Regions from separate parts of the Homo sapiens genome. Here region 1 is linked to region 2. Evidence: promoter capture Hi-C in human tissues and cell types (Jung and others, 2019). All regions are on one chromosome and are shown on one strand. The core of a region is centred on a gene start or on the middle of the fragment in contact, and the rest is flanking DNA. Distances in the headings are between cores, read along the strand shown.

Region 1 (3,102 bases), core at 466-2,965, 390 kb after region 2:
AAAAAACACGAGTCTCCTTCACTGAAACAGCAGGTCACTTAGAGAGTAAAAACAAAGTTGGCAATAGAGTAATAATTTTACATACTTAGAGCACATGAAATGAACTCTAGAATTTGTTTTTAAACAAATTTCTTGAACTCTAGACTTTGTTTTTCTGGAATCTTGAACTCTAGAATTTGTTTTTCTAAGAAAGGAGCTTACAATGACATAATAATTTTGTTTTAGTAAGAGCACCTCAATATCCTTAAACTGTCTTGAGAAAACATTTTCTTCTCCATTACAATTTTGCTTTTTCCAAAAGATTACTTTTGATGCTTAGAAAAGTTTTCAGACAGTGGTTAGGGGAGGATATAATTTCTAAGCCATCAGAAATATGGCAAATAATATCCAGCTACTTGGGGTGGGGGCGCTCAGGCAGAAGGATTGCTTGAGTCCAGCTTGGGCACCATAGTGAGATCCTATCCTATCTCTTAAAAAGAAAAAAGTAAGAAATATGGCAAATAAAAACTAGGGAATAAAAAATTATTTTCTTATGTTTGAAAAAAAGAAAGAAAAGTATACTATTTTAAGAAAACACTGGCCAGGAAAGGTGGCCCATGCCAATAATCCCAGCATTTTTAGAGGCTAAGGCAGGAGGATTGCCTAAGCTCAGGAGCTTGAGACCAACCTGGGCAACATGGTGAAACCCTGTCTCTATTTATAAAAAAGAAAGGGAGAGAGAGAGAAAGAGAAAAAGAAGACAAAAATGCTTTGTTTCCCATAGAACATTGTCCATCCATTCAGGTTGGCAAAATAGGTGATGGCCTTAGCACATAAACTTGGTGTGACGTTTTTCCTACACATTATCTTTTACATTTTGATCACCTTGATTGCTAATCTGAATACTTATTTTTGTAATGGTCTTTCAGTTCTTCTGACTGTATTAGGAGAAAGGACTGCTTATGCAGTGGCATGGCATTAGACTCCAATCTTGCCCCTTCTGGCATCACAACCTATGAAGGGCTACAGAACATCCCTTTGTGAAAAGTAGGAGGTAGTGTGGTACAGAGAAAAGGGCGTGGTCTCTGCATCTGAGAGAGAATGCTATGTGTCCTCATTTGGGCCAATCACTTAACTTTCTAAGGTTCCAGTGTACAATATAGAGACAGACCTTGTAGTATTAATTAGACAATATATCTAAAGTGAATATTATGTAATAGATGCCCAATAAATGCTGTCAAGTGTCTCTAGTAGTATTCTCATGCCTTAAGAATTTCAGCAGGCTGGGCGCAGTGGCTCATGCTTGTAATCCCAACGCTTTGGGAGGCCAAGGTGGGAGGATCACTTAAGCCCAGTTCAAGGTTACAGTGAGCCGTGATCATGCCACTGCACTCCAGCGTGGGCAACATAGTGAGACCCTGTCTCAAAAAAAAAAAAAAAAAAAAAAGTTTCAGCAAATGAACCTTAGACTTACATTCAAGCAGGGAGGAAAAGCCAGGTGAATTCCTCATAGAAAGAAAATGAATATGCAGAAATACACATAGAGGTAGAATGTGTTCTCTATCCCCTGGCTGTCTCCCTGACCCTAAGGACTAAGGTCCCCAGCTCTTAAAGACTGGGTAGTTGGAATGTCACTGCTATAGATACAAGAAAGAGAAACACATGTTTCACATTATTATGAAAGCACAGTCACCAGTGGGCTGATGTAGGAGCCCTGTCCTGGCATCAGAACACTCTGTGCTCTTTCACCTCTTGTGTAGCCTTTGAAGGATCCCTTTTTTCTCTGCATTCAAAGGGACTTCATTTGTAAAATGAGAGCAGAAGCTGTACCAATTTATCTCTAAGTTTCTCAGAGATACTATGAGTACACAAAAAGTCCCCCATCCCCCATGTCTTGTTTCCATGCAACCAGCTTTTAGCATCCTCTGTTCCCAATTCTGAAAGCTGATGTTTTCATAATTTGGACTTGTTTCCACCAACCAAGCAGTTAGGGCAGATCTAAAGCAAATCCTACCTAAAAATATAAAATGTTATCTATTTCTTCTTTGGCTAATTATATTGAACACAAAAATAATGTAATTCTCCTGAAGATCTTGTTGGTTTAAACATATAATTAACATTTTATTTGCCCTCCATAATTTATTCTTTCCCCCACCATGCGCGTGTGCATGAGTGCATGCACGCAAACGCACACTCACACATACATGAAGTGATGTATATTTGAATATTGGTCAATTAGTTCCTACTTCAAATACTCTGGAGAAATGTGAGCTATTTAAAATAATTTTATAGTAGAACCATGTTTATAGTGAATAATTTTTTGGCAAAATAGATTGCTGTCTACAATTTTTGTTTATATACTTAGATGTTGGTTTTTAAAAATCTGAACTGTTAAAAGGTGTTATTAAAACTCTGCATTTTTCTACTTTTTCCTGATTTTCATCTTTCTTAGCATCCATAAGAACAAATAATCACTATGACAATTTATTTGAATAGCAGTTAGTGCCCAACACTGTGCAAATGCCATGAAAGAGGAGCTGGAGGTCGGGTGCGGTGTCTCACGCCTATAATCCCAACAGTTTGGGAGGCCGAGGTGGGTGGATCACCTGAGGTCGGGAGTTCGAGACCAGCCTGACCAACATGGGGAAACCCCGTCTGTACTAAAAATACAAAATCAGCGGGGCATGGTGGTGCATGCCTGTAATCCCAGCTACTTGGGATGCTGAGGTAGGAGAACCCTGGAGGCGGAGGTTGCAAGTGAGCCAAGATCATGCCATTTCACTCCAGCCTGGGCAACAAGAGCAAAACTCCGTCTTAAAAAAAAAAAAAAAAAAAAAAGGAGCTAGAGACAGAGACCACACAAAGTCCCATTTTTTGCTCCTCTTAATTCACATCCTTGTCTCTTGATTACTATAAAAATAATGTTGAATATTTTCAGGATTAAAATGAAATTTTTTTTGTCTATGCAAGCTAGAATTTTTCTGAGGCCTGCAGAGTCATAGGGATTGTTTCCAAAAAAAAAGATAAATATCAGATGATCTTGATTCGTGCAATTTTAAGTGCTTTCTAGAGTTTATTGTTATTTTTAAAACTTCAAATATAACATAAATTTAAAAATTGATA
Region 2 (3,168 bases), core at 303-2,802:
TTTTGGAAAGTATTATACCAGTGGTTCTCAAACTTTAGTAGTATATATCAAAATCATTTGGAGGGCTTGTTAAAACACAGATTGCTGTTTTTTTTAAAATTATTATTTCAGTAGTGGTAGTAGCAGTTTCTGATTCAGATCTGTGGTAGGAACCTAGAATTTTAATGTCCAAGTTCTCAGGTGATGCTGATGTTATTGGTCTAGGACCATCCTTTGAGAACCACTGTGTAATACAAATGAATTATGGTTTTGACTTTATAGCCAAATTCATTGAGTTTTCCTCCAATGTTAGTCTCTTTCTTCCTCTAATGCTGTTATTTCCTTACCTTGCTTCACACCTAGCAATATCCGTTTACACATGTGAAAGACCAACTTAGTGAAGTATTTTGTTGACTGTTTACAATAGTAAGCAACGACTTCAGGTTAGCTTAATTAAGGAGAATAGGAAAAATATATGGTTTTTTTTTTTATAGGGAGATAAGAAGGAACTCTTTGGAATAAGAGGTGGGATTTCTGTTTTCCCCAAAGTCAATTAGATGTCAAATGCTACTTGTTACCAACTTTCCAAAATCCCATTAGAGACCTTGTAATTTGATCCAGAGAGAACAGCATTAAGAGTCAGGTAAAAGGAAAAACTGACTTCATTCTTCATTCCTTTCCTAAATCCTGAGAAATGTGTATACCTCAACACTCCCTTTTCCAATCCCGCAAAACAGGGAATCAGGAAAACACATTAGCACCCTAGTACAGACTAGGAATACAGAGCTGGGAGGAGACTCAGTGCCGTCAAGACAAGGAAACTGGGGGAGGGGAAGGAAAACTTCCCCTCGTTGGACAATCTGAGGGCTGCAGTGGGAAGAGAAGGGAAGTGGGGAAATGTACCTCAGACGTCGGCCAGACACTTTGCCTCTGGGCATGTGGGAAAGTGAGGGAGGAGGGAAAAGCGCTGCACCACAGCGAGATAGCAACAGCTCCTGCGGCTGCTTTTGAGTGAAGATCAGTAGAGATAGAGCGTGCCGCTTCACATCTTCCTCCCGGAGGCCATTTCTCCATTTTTATGTGGGATAAAAAGGGGGCGCTGGGCTGAGTCAGTATAAGCCAAAGTTGCCGCCTCTTGCGCAGCCGACCCCGCTTCGGCCCCGGCCCAGGCCAGAGAGGTGGCCCTCGGAGATGCTGAAGTTACTCCGCGCAGGGGGAGGGGTCGCCAGGCTCCTCTCCAATCACGGTGGCCGCTCCAGCTATTTGCATACATTATGCTAATAACAGACCTCCTGCCCCGCTCCCACCCAAGCTTCCCGCCTCCCTTGGGGGTTCCCCGGGCCGGCCCGCGGGCTGGGCCAAGGTGAATACATTATGATAATAAGGCGGGCTCCTGCTTTGCCTTCGGAAGGGGGGCGCGCAGCAGCGGGAGCGGCAGGCCGGACGCCGGGCGCCGGGAGGGGGTCGGGGGAGGGACGTCGTGCTCGGAGCGCGCGCGCACTCACACACTCACACACACACTCACGCGAGCATCGCGAAGGGTATTTAAGGATCGCGCACGCGGGGCTGCGGAGATCCTTCGGGCAGCCGCGACTTCGGCTTCGCGAGTAGCATTGGTTCCTTGGGTTTATTTCGTTTTCCTCTCTCTTCTCCACCTTAGTCGCCCCTTTCGCGCTGCGCTGTAGCGTGCTCTCACAGCCTTTTTGCCTTGAACTGAATGCAGGTGGGAAACAGGTCGGCGTGCCGAAAGACACCGAGTAGGTAGAAATAAGGCAAACTCACAGAGGCGCAACAGGTCCGGTCCTCCGTGGCCAGGGCGAGCCGCGGCCCCGCGTGGCGCCTCGGCCGTTGCCCTCGGACCCTGAGCGGCCACTGTTGGGGCCCTCGAAAGAGGTGTCGGTCCTCTGGGAGTCGGAAGAGCTGTCTGGGTGGGTTTCGTCTTGCTTTTTACCCCACCGCCACCCAGTCCCCGGACGGAGGGTGCTTTTCACTTCCAGCTGGGAGGAGAGAAGAAAGCGGGGATGGTGCACGCCTGCGGGTCTGGACGCTGAGCAAGGCAGGGGTCCGTATCCGCTCGTGGGCTTGACTCCACCAACTAGTTGTGCAGCCACAGGGACTGAACTTTGGAGGAATCGACCTTTTTCTTTCCTTTTAGGATTATTTGAGGTGTAGAGGGTGGGAAGCGAAGCCGAGACGGCCGACCCCGCCACGATGCTGCTGAAGAAGCACGCAGGGAAAGGAGGGGGCCGGGAGCCCAGATCCGAGGACCCGACCCCTGCCGAACAGCATTGTGCCCGGACCATGCCCCCGTGTGCCGTCCTGGCGGCCCTCCTGTCAGTGGTGGCCGTGGTGTCTTGCCTGTACCTGGGTGTGAAAACCAACGACCTCCAGGCGAGGATCGCCGCTCTCGAATCCGCCAAAGGGGCCCCTTCCATTCATCTGCTGCCTGATACCCTGGATCACCTCAAGACTATGGTGCAAGAGAAAGTGGAGCGACTTCTGGCTCAGGTGTGAGAGGCTGGGGTATTTTGCACGTGGGTAACATCTTGTACAAGCGTGACTCTGTGTGCATGACTAGCCGCTACCCTTACTGTACCCATACTTGGTGTGGCTGTGTGTGTGCGCGCGCGTGCATGTGTTGGCCAAGGATCTATGCTCACTGTAGCATATATTTATATGTGCACATCCCTTGATGTCCCCATCCCTATCTCTAATCTTCCCTCACTCTCTCTTAATGTTTGCGTGTTAAACACATAGGAAGGTCTAAAAGGGTTCGGAAAGGGCATTTTATCTCTTTTTAGTTGTCCTAAGTCAAACCCAATTGTGGAGAGAATATTTCTTGCAGAGATAGCATCTGTTAAATCTTTTACATGTTGTAAGATGGTTAGGGTCATAGATGTTATTAATATATAAAAAAGGTAATCACTCTTAAATGTAAAATAATGTCATATATAATTTAAAATCAATAATTTCACACGTTGAATCTTTTCATATTAAAAGTTTAAACTTTTTTTTTTTAAAGTAGCTTTATTTTTGGTAAAGGATGCAGTGCCGGGGTATTTATGAATGCAGAGCCCTTGGAATTGAGAGTTGAGAGGAATCTATGTTATGTGTAAGGGTACCTTTAGACTAGAGTAAGGGGGTTTTCTGGAACCTTACCCTAGCCGGGAGCCTATTTGGCAGTAGTTG

Evidence for each region. Contacts are between HindIII fragments. The study calls those that stand out against the background at their distance.
Region 1: a fragment that was not itself captured here is called in contact with the fragment with the promoter of COL25A1 in region 2 in 1 of the 25 tissues and cell types used here (dorsolateral prefrontal cortex).

What each region holds. Positions count from the first base shown.
Region 1 is chr4:108,912,977-108,916,078 of GRCh38, reverse strand. All of the region lies in intron 13 of COL25A1 (collagen type XXV alpha 1 chain), which reads left to right. Among named protein-coding and RNA genes, the nearest start is that of ETNPPL, 150 kb to the right of the region's middle. The HindIII fragment of the contact is 4,321 bases long and covers 1-3,102 here.
Region 2 is chr4:109,301,042-109,304,209 of GRCh38, reverse strand. COL25A1 (collagen type XXV alpha 1 chain) reads left to right here and starts at 1,552. Exons shown (of 38, transcript NM_198721.4): 1 at 1,552-2,041; 2 at 2,135-2,487. The coding sequence starts at 2,191. It overlaps COL25A1-DT (COL25A1 divergent transcript), which reads right to left and starts at 1,175. Exons shown (of 3, transcript NR_160939.1): 1 at 883-1,175. RefSeq lists an enhancer at 698-1,480. The HindIII fragment of the contact is 11,543 bases long and covers 1-3,168 here.